2 separate regions of the Homo sapiens genome follow, and region 1 is linked to region 2. The links are contacts of gene promoters, found by promoter capture Hi-C in blood cells and fetal thymus (Javierre and others, 2016). All regions are on one chromosome and are shown on one strand. Each heading gives the region's core, a stretch centred on a gene start or on the middle of the fragment in contact. The rest is flanking DNA. Distances are from core to core; before and after follow the strand shown.

Region 1 (7,240 bases), core at 1,967-4,466, 360 kb after region 2:
CCCAGCTCTGGATTTTTACCTGTGATGCTTAATAATTATGTGCCAGAGCAAGAATAAATGTTAAAAAGAAGTGTGTGGTTTAACTTTCTTTTATAACTGATTGCCATTTATTTTTGTCATAGTAGTATAACCTTTAAGTAACTTTTCCTGAGTAGCCACTATGTGCCAGGCAAAAACATGGGAGACATAGGTATGTTTAAGCTTTCAGGGTGCCTAGTATGTGTGAGAGGTGGCAGCCAACAGATTAAATTGAGAACATATATGAGAAATTTAATTGTGTCTGGTACACAGTATATGCTTATTAAAAAATTAGAAACCTGCCTTCATCATCAGTACCACCATCATCATCATCACCCAGCAAGCCAATTCTTCAACTAAAATCAGTTCAGAGTAAGCAGGGAGACATATAAACAGTCATCATATGTGTGGTCAATAAAAAGAGAAGTCTGTACCAGGTAAAGAGGCAGCACAGAAAATAGAGTGATGGACTTGTCTGGGGATTGCAGAGAGAGCTTCAGAGACGTCAGGTCTGAGCTGGATTTTGCAAGGCTCTCTCTTAGATGTAAGCATTCCCTTGACCTTGTCTTTTTTAGGGAGTAGGGAGTGGGGAGTAAGACCACTGCTTTTTTTTTCCTTCTTAAATTTTTTAAGTTCTCTCATTTCTTCCTTGTCCATACCCTTGCTGATAATGAGGCTTGACATCTATCTTCCTGCCTGCTCCATTCAGACAGATGAGTACCGTCCATGGTTTCTAATTCTGTACCTTCAATTTTCACTGCTTGTCTGTTTAATTGCACATATACGTTTAGGAATTTGTCAAGGAGTACAGAATCCATCTTCTGATTTACATGCATTGAGAGTCTTGTGTCTCAGAAATGAAAATCTTAATAAGGCTTTTCCATCTTTATCCGAGTGACAGAGAGAACCCTGTGAACTTAAGTAGGCAGTATATATACTAAAATTGGAGTGGTGCAGAAAATGTTACCCAACAAGTTCTAGGAGAGTAATGTGTAAGTTCAAATAAAAAATAAAAACAAAAAATGAAAATCGTCTGAGACTAGTTGATTGGAAATAACCAAGGAATGAGAGAATTGAGAATAACAAGCTTGGTTTCCCTTAAAATTTTAAAGGGGTACTAAGAGTAGAAGGAAATGTTTTATGAGACTCTTGCTGTTTTGTATAAAATCTTATTTTTAATAATTTTATATTTTTCATGCCTACATTTTAAAAGAGAGACCTAACATACAGTTATGAGACTTCAGAAATATCATGGAAAGTACTTATGCTCTGGTTGCGGTTGTCCCTTGTGGCACTATGATTTTGTTCATGTATAAGATTGTATTTGTTGAGTTGCAAAACAGCCAGGTGAACAGTGTCATTGAGTTTACTAAATTGAGGTGTGAATAAGGTAATGATCTAGAAAACAGATAACTGAACCTGGAAAAAGATATAGAAGACAGATTACTTGCTTATAAATTTGAAACAAAAGAATGGTAAACAAGATTGGTAACCCGAATGTTATCTTCTTTAACTGTGTCATCAAAAACTCCACAGTTATAACATTGACTATTAAAGGCTAAAATAATGGAAAGGAAATGAAATAATGTTCAATCTTTGAGGAAAAAATGAATATACCTTTTTGGATTTTGGCGGGGCAACTATAATCTCAAAGAAAGAGAATAACAATTTGCATTTATAATCTTTTCTTCTAAGTAGCTTAAAGTTTTGTAAGTATATTTTCATTAATCCTTTGGACTATATTTGAATTTTGTTCAAAATATTAAGAAGGAAATAATCTGTACTTCTTGTAGATGGCTGAAAAAATGACATACTGAAAGTCACAGATTTTTTTTTTCACTTAAATGGCTTCATTGTTTTATGTTTCCAGTGTGGGTTTTTTTTTTGTGTGTGTGTGAAAGCAAGTTTATTAGGAAAGTAAAGGAATAAAGAATGGCTACTTTATAGGCTGAGCAGCCTCCACTGTTATTTTTTAGCACTTTGCCTAAGGAATTTATTTATCCTTCAAATACGTATCATTTGCATATTGCGGGTTAGGCCTGAGGCGGTACACAGTGGCACACCCACATGGGGTGAAGAGCAGGGAGAAAAAGAGAATTTGAAACTGTGTATTTTCTCCTTCAATTTCATGTGGCATTAAATCATTCTTTTGAGGTCAAGAGCCTCTGAACTGATTAGTTAAAGAATTGGCTTGCTGGATGATGATGGTGGTGGTAGTGGTGGTGAAGGCAGGTTTCTAATTTTTTAATAAGCACATACTGTGTACCAGACACAATTAGATGTATTATATGTGTTCTCAATTTAACCCTGTTGGCAACGTTATGAGATGGTTATTTGCATGAATTTTGCAGAGAGGGAAACTTGGGAAGGTTGGGTAACTTATCCAAGGTCACAGAATTCTAAGCCAATGTACCTGTATCTGTAATTTTTATGCTCGTGATCTTTAATGATGTTACTCTCCCCCTTTGTGGGAAGCAGGCACAAATATTCCTTTTTTTTCCCCACTTTGGATACGTGTTGGTGAGCATAAATGTGCCAATCATTGTGATATGGCTTCGATGAGTGGAAGAACACCAGGGCTCTTGTCTCATGCCCAATTAGATAAGATGACATGGGTGCATGTGGAGTGGTTTTAAGGAGCGGAGAGTTTAATAGGCAAGACAGAAGGGAGAAGAAAGAAGCAAGAAGCGCCCCTTTACAGAGCCAGAGGGAGAGGGGGCTCCAAAGCTGAGAGAAGAGACCCCCAGTGTGGTGGAAACCTGCCAGGTATATGAAGAGGCTGGAGGAGACGGTGTCTGATTTGCATATGGCTCAGGTGATTGGTTTGACCAGGCATGTCATTCACATAGCCACCCACATAATAAATGCATAATAAATGCCATGAGAAAGTAGATTTGTTGGGGGAGTAAATTGACAAATCAGAAGATTTTATTGTGCTTTTGTACAATAAATAGCCTTTAGCATTTAATTTCCTCCCTCCACCCCTGGCCCTGGGCAAACACTCATCTGTTTCTGTCATGATAATTTTGTTTGTTTTAGAATTCCGTGTAAATTGAATCATACACTATGTATTCTTCTGCATTTGGCTTTTGTTGATCTGCATTGTGCTTTCGACATTCATCTATGTTGTTGTTGTTTTTAGAGGTAGGGTCTTACTCTGTCACCCAAACTGGAATGCTGTGGTGAAATCATAGCTCATTGCAACCTTGATCTCCTGGCTCATGGGACCTTCCTGCCTCAACCTCCCAAGTAGCTAGGATTATAGGTGCATACCAGTACACCTGGCTAATTTGTAAAATTTTTTGTAGAGACAGGGTCTCGCTGTGTTTCCCAGACTGGTCTCAAACTCCTCCCATCTCAGCCTCATCTATGTTGTTTCATGTATTGGTAATTCATTCTTCTATTCTTTTATTTTTTTAATTTAAAACATTTTTTCCATTCTTTTTAATTGTTAGGTAGTATTCCATTGTATGAATATACCACAATTTGTTTATCTAGTCCCCAATTCAAATGTCCACTTGATGGACATTTAGATTGTTTCCAGTTCTTGGCTATTATGAATAAAACTGCTGTGAATATTTGGATAAATACTTTTTTTTTTTTTCGAGATGGAGTCTCGCTCTGTCGCCCAGGCTGGAGTACACTAGCACGATCTTGGCTCACTGCAAGCTCTGCCTCTCGGGTTCACGCCATTCTTCTGCCTCGGCCTCCCAAGTAGCTGGGACTACAGGTGCCCACCACCGCACCGGCTAATTTTTTTGTATTTTTAGTAGAGGCAGGGTTTCACCGTGTTAGCCAGGATGGTCTCAATCTCCTGACCTCGTGATCGCCCTCCTTGGCCTCCCAAAGTGCTGGGATTACAGGTGTGAGCCACTGCTCCTGGCCTGGATAAATACTTTTAAGGAGGATTGCTGGGCTGACCAATAAATATGTTTAAAGTATGTTTAACTTTATGAGAAATTGCCAAACTATTTCCAAAGTGGATAGATATGTTCATCTCCAGTAGTGTATGTGTTCCAGTTATTCTACCACCTTGCCAAAAGTTGATATTGTCAGTTTTAAATTTTAATCATTCTAATGGATGTATGATGATATCTCATTGTGCTTTTAATTTCCATATCTTGAATATGTGTGTGTGTTGCAAATATTTTGTCCCAGTCTGTGGTTTGCCTTTTGTTTTAACAATGTCTTTTGAAGAGCAACAAAGTTTTACAATTTGATTCAGTCTATTTTATCAGTTTCTTTCTTTTATGGTTTACTTTTATTAAGAAGTATTCAACTGACCCAAGAGCATGAAGAATTTTTCCTGTATTATCTTTTTGAAATTTTATAGTTTTAGCTCTTGTATTTAACTCTATGACCCATGTTTTGGTTAGGTTTTAGACATGTTGATTTTTTTTTCCTTGTTGGTTTCCTTGTTGGTTTTGGCACTATTAGTAGAAAAGACTGGGCCGGGCCAGTGGCTCACGCCTGTAATCCCAGCACTTTGGGAGCCCCAGGTGGGTGGATCACATGAGGTCAGGAGTTTGAGACCAGCCTGGTCAACATGGTGAAACCCTGTCTAAAATACTAAAAAATACAAAAAATTAACCGGCTGTGGTGGCGGGTACCTGTAATCCCAGCTACTCAGGAGGCTGAGGCAGGAGAATTGCTTGAATCTGGGAGGCAGAGGTTGCAGTGAGCTGAGATTGCACCACTGCACTTCAGCACTCCAGCCTGGGTGACAGAGTGAAACGCCATCTCAAAAAAAAAAAAAAAAAAGAAAGAAAGAAAGAAAAGAAAAGACTTTTCTTTTTCATTGGATTCCCCATTTTTCACCTTGTAAAGAATAATTTGATCATGGGTATGTTTCTGTACTTTTTTCTGTTCCATTGATATAAATGTCTGTCCTTGTAACAGTATCACTCTGTCTTGATTATTGTAGCTTTATAATAAGTTTTGAAATTAGGTAGAGTCAGTGTTTCAATTTTGATCTTTTTCCAAAAATTGTTTTGGCTCTTCTAGGTCTTGTAACTATGCTAAACTTATTAATTTTAGTAGCCTCTTGGTAGATTATTTGGTATATTCTACATAGATGTCTATGTTGTCTGTGAATATAGTTTTATTTTTTTTCTTTCCAACTGTATGCCTTTTATTTATTTTTCTTGCCAATTACCCTGGCTAGGACCTCTGCTACGATGTTTAATAGAAGTGATGAGAGTGTGCATTCTTGTCTTGTTCCTGAACTTAAGGATAGATACATTTAGTCTGTCACTATTAAGTGTGATATTACCTATTGGTTTTTCATAGATGGCCTTTTATCAGGTTAAGGAAGCTTCTTTCTGTTTCTCGTTTGCTTTTTTTTTTTGGTTATCAATGTGATATAGCTTGGATATTTGTCCCTGTCCAAATCTCATGTTGAAATATAATCCCCAAAGCTGGAGATGGGGCCTGGTGGGAGGTGTTTGGATCATGCGGGCAGATCTCTCATGGTTGGTGATGTCTTCATGGTAATGAGTTCTCCTGAGATCTGGTCATTTAAAAGTGTGTGGCACCTATCCCCCCAACTCTCTCTCTCTTGCTCCTGCTCTCACCATGTGAAGTACCTGCTCCTGCTTGACCTTCCTCCATCAGTAAAAGCTCCCTGAGGCCTCCCCAGATGCAGATGTCGCTATGCTTCTTGTATAGCCTGCAGAACTGTGATCCAATTAAACCTCTTTTCTTATAAATTACCCAGTCTTGCCTAGGCCTAGTAGCTTACGCCTATAATCCTCGCACTTTGGGAGGCTGAGGTAGGTGGATTGCTTGAGCCCAGGAGTTTGAGACTAGTCTGGGCAACATGGTGAAACCTTGTCTCTATAAAAAGTATGATTAATGAATGTGGTGGTGCAGGCCAGTAGGCACAGCTACTTGGGAGGATCACCTGAGCCTGGAGACGTCGAGGTTGCAGTGAGCTGTGATTGCACCACTGCACTGCAGCCTGGGCCACAGAGTGAGGCCTTGACCATTTATTCATCTACTGGGTTGACAATATTGTTTAAATTTTTTAAAATCTGTGAATGTGTACTTGATTACATTGATTAAAACAATATTAAGTCAATTTTGCATTCCTGGGATAAACCTACTATGTCAAGGTATATTACCTTTTTTTATATATTACTGAATTTTTGCTTTACTGCCAATGAGGGATGTTGATCTAGACTTTTCCTTTCATGTAAGGGCTATCTGATTTTGGTATCAGGTAATGCTGACCTTGTTAATGAGTTGGGAAGTATATTCCTTCTTAAGTATGCAATTTATATAGCAGCATAGTATAAATAATACAATTTAATAATGTAATATATAGAGTTGTTTAAATTGCCAACATTTTTCTCTATTTTAAAGTTTTGTCTAAAATAGATCTTAACTAGGTTTGTCTTATAAGCTGGTTTAATATTTTATAATTAAAATATTTTTAATATTAAGATTTTTTGAGAACATAGGGAAAAAGCTCTGTGGTTTTAACAAATATATAAGTATGCTAATTTTAAAACACTAAGCCTTTTTGTAGAAAATTTGGAGAGTACAAGACTGCATGAAGACAAAATCATTATGTAGATTTTATTGTTGAGATAATATGGAATTTAACATTTGGAACTCATTTTCTTAACATGCACAAGCATTTTCTCAATATTTTAATTTTTATTAACAGCATGCTTATGACTGTGTAATCTATCACATGGATTTAGAATATTTGTCTATAATATAAGTATATTTGTTTTATTTATCTAATTATTGATATTAGACTTTTACCCTGTTAGCAATTTTCTACAATCACATATAATGCTGTGATGAGCACTTCCTATGTAAGCCTCTGTTTTTATTTACGATTTGTTTCTTTAGGTAGATTTATAAATTAAATTATTGGGTCAGAGGGTCGAAATGTCTTGAAGCTCTTGATACATTTATGGAACGGCTTTTATCTATACTACTTCAGTTTGTACTTCTCCACATGATATACGAGAAGAGCTGGTTCAACTCTTCAATTATTCAGGATTTTACAGTTAAATATCTTGGCTAACATGATGGGTAAAAGTAGTAACTTATTGCATTAATTTTCATTTCTTTAGTTACTTGGGAAATAATTTTTTAATTTTCTTGAAAAGTTTTAGACAAGTCACCCAGAAGAGTTATGCAACAGAAATATTAAGAGGAAATAAATATATGGGAAAACAAGTTCCTGTAATAAAAGAAACAGAAATGG
Region 2 (7,327 bases), core at 3,010-5,509:
GAAAGTTTATCCAAAGGGTCCGGGCATGGTGGCTCAAGCCTGTATTCCCAGCACTTTGGGAGGCTGAGGCGGGTGGATCAGGTCAGGAGTTCAAGACCAGCCTGGCAAACATGGCAAAACCCTGTCTCAACTAAAAATACAAAAATTAGCCAGGCGTGGTGGCGGGTGCCTGTAGTCCCAGTTACTCAGGAGGCTGAGGCAGGAGAATCACTTGAACCTGGGAGGTGGAGGTTGCAGTGAGCCGAGATTGCACCATTGCACTCCAGCCTGGGTGACAGAGCGAGACTTTGTCTCAAAAAAAAAAAAAAAAAAAAAGAGAGAAAGTTTATCCAAAGGGATAATAACAGAGAACTTTCCAAAACTAGGGAAACATACTATTATCCAAGTACAAGAAGATTATATAACATCAAGCAGATTTAACCCAAAGAAGATTACCTCAAGGCACTTAAAATCAACTCTATGTTTAAGAGACATAGCTTAAAGTAATAAAAGCCATCTATGACAAACTCATAGCCAACATTATACTGAACAGGGAAAAGTTGAAAGCATTCCCCCCGAGAACTGGAATGAAACAAGGATGCCCACTTTCACCACTTCTGTTCAACATAGTACTGGAAGTCCTAGTCAGAGCAATCAGACAAGAGAAAGAAATAAAGGGCATCCAAACTGGTAAAGAGGAAGTCAAACTGTTGCTTTTGCTGATGATATGATCATATACCTAGAAAACCCTAAAGACCCATCCAAAAAGCTCCTGGAACTGGTAAATGAATTCAGTAAAGTTTCAGGATACAAAATTAATGTCCACAAATCAGTAGCTCTGCTATACACCAACAGCGACCAAGCTGAGAATCAAATCAAGAAATCAACCTCTTTTACAATACCTATAAAAATTAAATAAATAAATAAAATAAGGTACTTAAGAATACACCTAACCAAGGAGGTGAAGGACCTCTACAAGGAAAACTACGAAACACTGCTGAAAGAAATTATAGATGACACAAACAAATGGAAACACATCCCATGCTCATGGATAGAATCAATATTGTGAAAATGATCATACTGCCAAAAGCAATCTACAAACTCAATGCAATTCCCATCAAAATACTACCATCGTTTTTCACAGAACTAGGAAAAACAATCCTAAAATTCATAGGGAACCAAAGAAGAGCCCATATAGCCAAAGCAAGACTAAGCACAAACAAGAAATCTAGAGGCATCACATTACCCAACTTCAAACTATATACAAAGCCATAGTCATCAAAACAGCGTAGTGCTGGTATAAAAATAGGCACATAGACCAACAGAACAGAATAGAAACCCAGAAATAAAGCCAAATACTTGTAGCCAACTGATCTTCAGCAAAGCAAACAAAAACATAAAGTGGGGAAAGGACACCCTTTTCAACAAATGATGCTGGGATAATTGGTGACCCACATGTAGAAGAATTAAACTGGATCCTCATCTCTCACCTTATACAAAAATCAACTCAAGATGCATCGAAGACTTAAATCTAAGACCTGAAACCATAAAAATTGTACAAGATAACACCGGAAAAAACCTAGACATTGGCTTAGGCAAAGATTTCATGACCAAGAACCCAAAAGCAAATGCAACAGAAACAAAGATAGACAGGACTTAATTAAACTAAAAAGCTTCTGCACAGCAAAAGAAAAAATCAGCAGAGTTAACAGACAACCCACAGACTGGGAGAAAATCTTCACAATCTATACATCTGACAAAGGACTAATATCCAGAATCTACAAAGAACTCAAACAAATCAGCAAGAAAAAAAAAAACAACCCCATCAAAAAGTGGGCTTAGGACATGAATAGACAACTCTCAAAAGAAGATATGCAAATGGCCAACAAACATATGGAAAAAATGCTCAACACAGCTAATTATCAGGAAAATGTAAATCAAAACTACACTGCAAATCTACCTTACTCCTGCAAGAATGGCCATAATCAAAACATCAAAAAATAATAGACGTTGGCATGGATGTGGTGAAAAGAGAACACTTTTACACTGTTAGTGGAAATGTAAACTAGTACAACCATTATGGAAAACAGTGTGGATATTCCTTAAAGAACTAAAAGTAGATCTACCATTTGATCCAGCAATCTGACTACTAGGAAGAGGAATAACCACAGAAAAATAAGTCATTATACAAAAAAGATCCTTGCACATGCATATTTATAGGAGCATAATTCGTAATTGCAAAAATATAGAACCAGCCTAAATGCCCATCAATCAACAAGAGGATAAAGAAAATGGTGTATATACACATACATACACACACACACACACACACACACACAATGGAATAGTACTCAGCCATAAAAAGGAGCAAATACTGGTATTCACAGCAATCTGGATGGAACTGGAGACTATTATTCTAAGTGATGTAACTCAGGAATGGAAAACCAAATGTTGTATGTTCTCACTGATAAGTGGAAGCTAAGCTATGAGGACACAAAGGCATAAGAATGACACATAGGACTTCAGGGACTCGGGAAAGGGTGGGAGGGGGTGAGGGATTAAAGACATCGGGTACAGGATACACTGCTTGGGTTATGGGTGCACCAAAATCTCAGAAACCACCACTAAAGAACTTATGCATGTAACCAAACACCACCTGCTTCCTAAAAACCTATTGAAATAAAAAATACATTTTTATTTTTAAAAAATGTCCATACTACCCATACTACCCAAAACAATCTACAGATTGAATCCAATCCCCATCAAAATACCAATGACATTCTTCACAGAAGCAGAATAAACAATTCTAAAATTTATGTGGAACCACAAAAGACCGAGAATAATAGCAAAAGCTAACCTGAGCAAAAAGAACAAAACTGGAGGAATCACATTACATGACTTCAAATTCTACTACAGAGCTATAGTAACCAAAACAGCATGGTACTGGTATAAAAACAGACACACAGACAAATGGAACAGAATACAGTACCCAGAAATAAATCCACACACTTAGGGCATGGCTACACGGAGGAAGGGGTTTCTGAGCACAATACTCTGTGTGTGTTAACTTTGTAGTTTTGAAGTTAACAAGACCCTGGGCTCGCTATGCAGTCCGTATGTGATGTTGAACCCTTTACACACAGCACTAGACGGTTTTGAACCTATCAAAACACTGCTTCACTTAAATTTCACCAACTCCTTAAAATCCTAGTAAGTCTATGTTTTCCTTTGTTCCTATGTTCTCCTTTTCTCCCACTTTGTGGGTTGTCTGTTTACTCTGCTGATTATTTTTTTTGCTGTGCAGAAGCTTTTTAGTTTAATTAAGTTCAGTCTATTTATCTTTGTTTCTGTTGCATTTGCTTTTGGGTTCTTCATCGCGAAGTCTTTGCCTAAGCCAATGTCTAGAAGGTATTTTTCCGGTGTTATCTTGAGCAATTTTTATGACTTCGGGTCTTAGATTTAAGTCTTTGATGCATCTTGAGTTGATTTTTGTATAAGGTGAGAGATGAGGATCCAGTTTAATTCTTCTACATGTGGGTCACCAATTATCCCAGCACCATTTGTTGAAAAGGGTGTCCTTTCCCCACTTTATGTTTTTGTTTGCTTTGCTGAAGATCAGTTGGCTAATCAGATACCTCATAGCTCCTTTGTTGTATAATTTTGTGCATTGTAGATCAGGGTCAAAATGATAAAGGTGATTTTCTGGGACTACAGACTTGTCAATAACAGGTGGTCCTAGGCTGATAGAGGTAAACAAATAAAAGCTTTAAAAGAATATTCTCTGTTAAAATTTGCTTTCATAAATTTCATGTTTAAAATCATTTGTGAATAAATGTTAAAATAAAAAGGTGAGCCACGATTTTGGTAAGGCAATTTCTGAGCAAATCACACACAATTTTTTTTCATTCCCATTGATCTATTACATAGACGAATATTTGGTTGTGAAAAAGTGAGAGAAAGAACTCGGCTATTTTATTATAGTAGAGCAACACCGAAGGGAGACGACTTCGCTGTAGCTCAGAGTCTTTTTCCATTCTTCACCCACGCGCGGGGCAGTCGCGCGGCGCGGTCGCGCGGCGGGTAGGAACTACCATCCCAGCATCCTCTGCGGCGCGGGGAAGGAAGCCCGGGAATGAGAGAAAGAGGCTCCGGGGAGATAGCGGACCAGTGAGGGCTGCCCCTCTTTTGAAGCGGTTTTCGTCTCTTTCCGCCAGTGGCCTCCCAGCTCACGCAGGGGCGGGTCCCGGTAGCGCGAGGCGGTGCAGGGCGGGAAGGGGAGTGGTGGCGGCTGCGGCAGTAGGGACAGCAGGAGCAGTGGTGCTGTCAGCGCGGCCGTCGGAGACATGGGAGACCCGGGGTCGGAAGTGAGTAGTCGAGTGAGGGTCCTGGCGTTCTCAGAGGCGAACCGCGAAGGGTTTGTGTTTTCTGCGGTCTGAGGCCTGGTGCTCCGTCGCAGCCTCGGGGCGATACCTCTTCAGTGTCTTGGGCCGAGCCCAGCTCTGGGGCCTGGTGCGTGTCTGAGCGAGGAACCCGCAGCAACAATGGCCGCCCGGCCCCCCGCACGGGCCCTGGCGTTCGTTGTGGCCGCGGCTGGGCCAGTGGGAGCGACGTTTTAAGGCAGGATTGCCCTTCGGTGTTGAGCTTGCGTTCCTCCTGGAGTAGATAAGGGGAATTGTGAGAGGCTGGTAACTAACGCGTTTTCAGCGTTGGGTCCCTGCAGCTCCGCACACTCTGTGGCAAGAGCCAGAGCTCGAGTTCCGTTCCTAGTCGGGTTTCCGTGAAATTGTGCTCAGTTCGTTTTCCTCAAGAGCTCTCTGTCTTTAATTGTTCCTTTCGGAAACGCTCTCTTCCTACACGAATGTGGCTGAACAGATAAGCATGTTTTGGCTTGTTTTTATAGATAATAGAATCTGTCCCTCCAGCTGGCCCTGAGGCATCTGAGTCAACAACGGATGAAAATGAAGACGACATTCAGTTTGTCAGTGTAAGTAGCAATGATGATTGGGGTTTTCCCAGAGTAAAAGACTATGGTGGGCCATTATGTAATGTTACCTCACCTGGTCATTTAATGTTCATGAGTGTCTAATACATACTAGACACTGGAGCATGGCGCAGGATTGGGAAATTTACCAAAAGAGCTATCTGAGCCACCCCCGTAGCCATCACAAAGAGCACGTCCTAAAGAACGTGCTGTACACTTAATCTCGCCCCCTGCCTTTCATTTAAACTTAAGATAAAAACGCTGGTGTCTAAAACGCTGTTTTGAAATGGAGCAAGAGTAACTTCTAAAGGCGACACGGAGGAAGGAGCTGCTAATGATGAGCAAGGACGTAGAAAACAGGAAGGGTTGTGAGAGCCCAGAATCTTAGCGTTATGGTGCTTCTAACATGAAGGCAAATAGCTTGAAGATTTCTCTAACCTCTGAGATCATCATGTTACGGCATAGTACAGTTGATGCTCATAATGAAGAATCCTACATCACTGGGAACATGCTCTATTTTTCTGAGTTTGTTCCCTTTGAGACAGTAGTTTTCAAGCCTTAGTAAGTATAAACAGGCAGATTCCTGGGCCCCACTGCAGACCTACCGAATCAGAATTTCCAGGCGGGGGCCTAGGAATCTTCATTTTCAGACAAGTGCAGGGACATAAGGATTTCTGAGCACACTTTGGACAGAATGGGTTTCTAAAGCAGAAGGGAGTGTTTTATGATATATTTTGGGGTGATTTTCATCCATAATTGTTGGAGTTTTAGAAAGGCTTTGCGTAAAGTGGTATCTCAGCTCGCCAGGCAGAAAACAGTTCTGTCCCCAACTCGTCTTTTGGAATGCCGTAGTTAGTTGCAGTTTGGTATTCAGGCTGTAGAATTTTTCTTTAATGGAGTGTCTGTCTAATGTTTCTGTGTTTTTTAGTTTTTGTAGGTTTAGGGCGACTTTGTAAGTCACTTGTTTTTTAAATTAAAATTTCCTCCCTAAACATTGTTTTGTTAACATCGTTGTTTGTTTTTCGTGTTTTGTGTATAAGTTCTTTACCCTGTCACTTTCTGGACATATTTCCCAATTAATAGTGTGTGTATATTTTGTTCCTGACATTTGGAACCTTTCTAAATATTGATGATACCAAGGGAGATTGTATGCTGACTCTGCCTTCACTGTTGTTATGGAGTAAGCAACGTAACTTGAAATCAAAGAGCAATGGTTTCTGTTTTTGTAACGAGAAACATTTGGGAAGAGGAGTTCATGGGTCTTTAGGAAAAATAATTTTGGTTTCCTCTTAACTGGTATAAAAACAGGAATGATTGGGACAGATGATCTTGATGAGTTTTTTGTGCATCTGTATGTAGAAGTGACACACGTCTGATTGATGATCCATGTGCCATTGAGAAAGTATGTAGAAGTGACATACGTCTGATTCATGATCCATGTGCCGTTGAGAAACACAGATGGGATGTACAAAATTAAGTTTGGAAAAGTAAATAGGTATAGATTTGTGTAATATCCTGAGGAATAAATCATTATATTTTAAATTGTGAGTTAATATATAGGCTGTGTTTAGCTGAGGTTTAAAACTCTTACTTTAAATTTTATTTTAAATATAAAGATCCTTCTACATCTTTTCATACAATATTTTGTATATCCAGCGTGATAGAACCCTTTATATTTAACCCTGTTCAAAATAGAAGATCAAAGGTTTGACAGCTCTTATATGGAGAAGTGAATTACATGCTGTCAGTGTAATTGCAGTACCAGAAAGAATGTAGTAAAACATCCCTGTTGCATTTCAGTGGTGCCACATAAAAGACAATGATAACTTAATTCCACTTTGAAATACACTCAGAGACAACTTTCCTTTGTAACCCCATCCTATACTGGGCTCTACCAGGATATGCTTATTTCTCTGTGTTTTTTATAGTACCATCCAGTAAAGATGCAATGCTGCTGGGTATAGTTCTCTGCTTGTGGGTTCTTCAGATTAAAAGAAAAAAAAGTTTGTTACTTCTTGATATATTCTGGTTTGGATTCCTTAGTCTTTTCATATAAATGTTGATTATCTAGCCTTCATTCTGCGTTGTGGCACAGAATCCTCTTTGTGTTCTGTCATGTACCTAGCCTCCAAAATAAACAATATGCTGAAAGAAAGGAATGATAAAAGATTTGGGGATACAAAAAGAGTCCTTATCTTAATGTAAATTTTATTGAAATATAGTACCTATACAGGGAAGGTTACTTCCTCCTTGCCATCACTATTTTTGTACCACATTACCATTTGTCTAGATTGATTATCTTGTTTGTATTCTTCCCACATGCTCTCTTATGTGGTTAACCTTCTTGAAACAGCTCTAATAATGTTC

What was found. Contacts are between HindIII fragments. The CHiCAGO score rates a contact against its expected background, and 5 or more counts as called.
Region 1: a fragment that was not itself captured here is called in contact with the fragment with the promoter of KIAA1586 in region 2 in 1 of 17 cell types (total CD8 T cells); the score reaches 5.4 in total CD8 T cells.

Annotation. Positions count from the first base shown.
Region 1 is chr6:57,405,571-57,412,810 of GRCh38, forward strand. The region is part of intron 7 of PRIM2 (DNA primase subunit 2); the gene reads left to right. Among named protein-coding and RNA genes, the nearest start is that of MIR548U, 19 kb to the left of the region's middle. The HindIII fragment of the contact is 4,227 bases long and covers 1,104-5,330 here.
Region 2 is chr6:57,042,434-57,049,760 of GRCh38, forward strand. KIAA1586 reads left to right here and starts at 4,260. Exons shown (of 4, transcript NM_020931.4): 1 at 4,260-4,343; 2 at 4,880-4,963. The coding sequence starts at 4,323. RefSeq lists a silencer at 3,018-3,312 and enhancers at 3,942-4,031, 4,848-5,725. The HindIII fragment of the contact is 6,924 bases long and covers 3,742-7,327 here.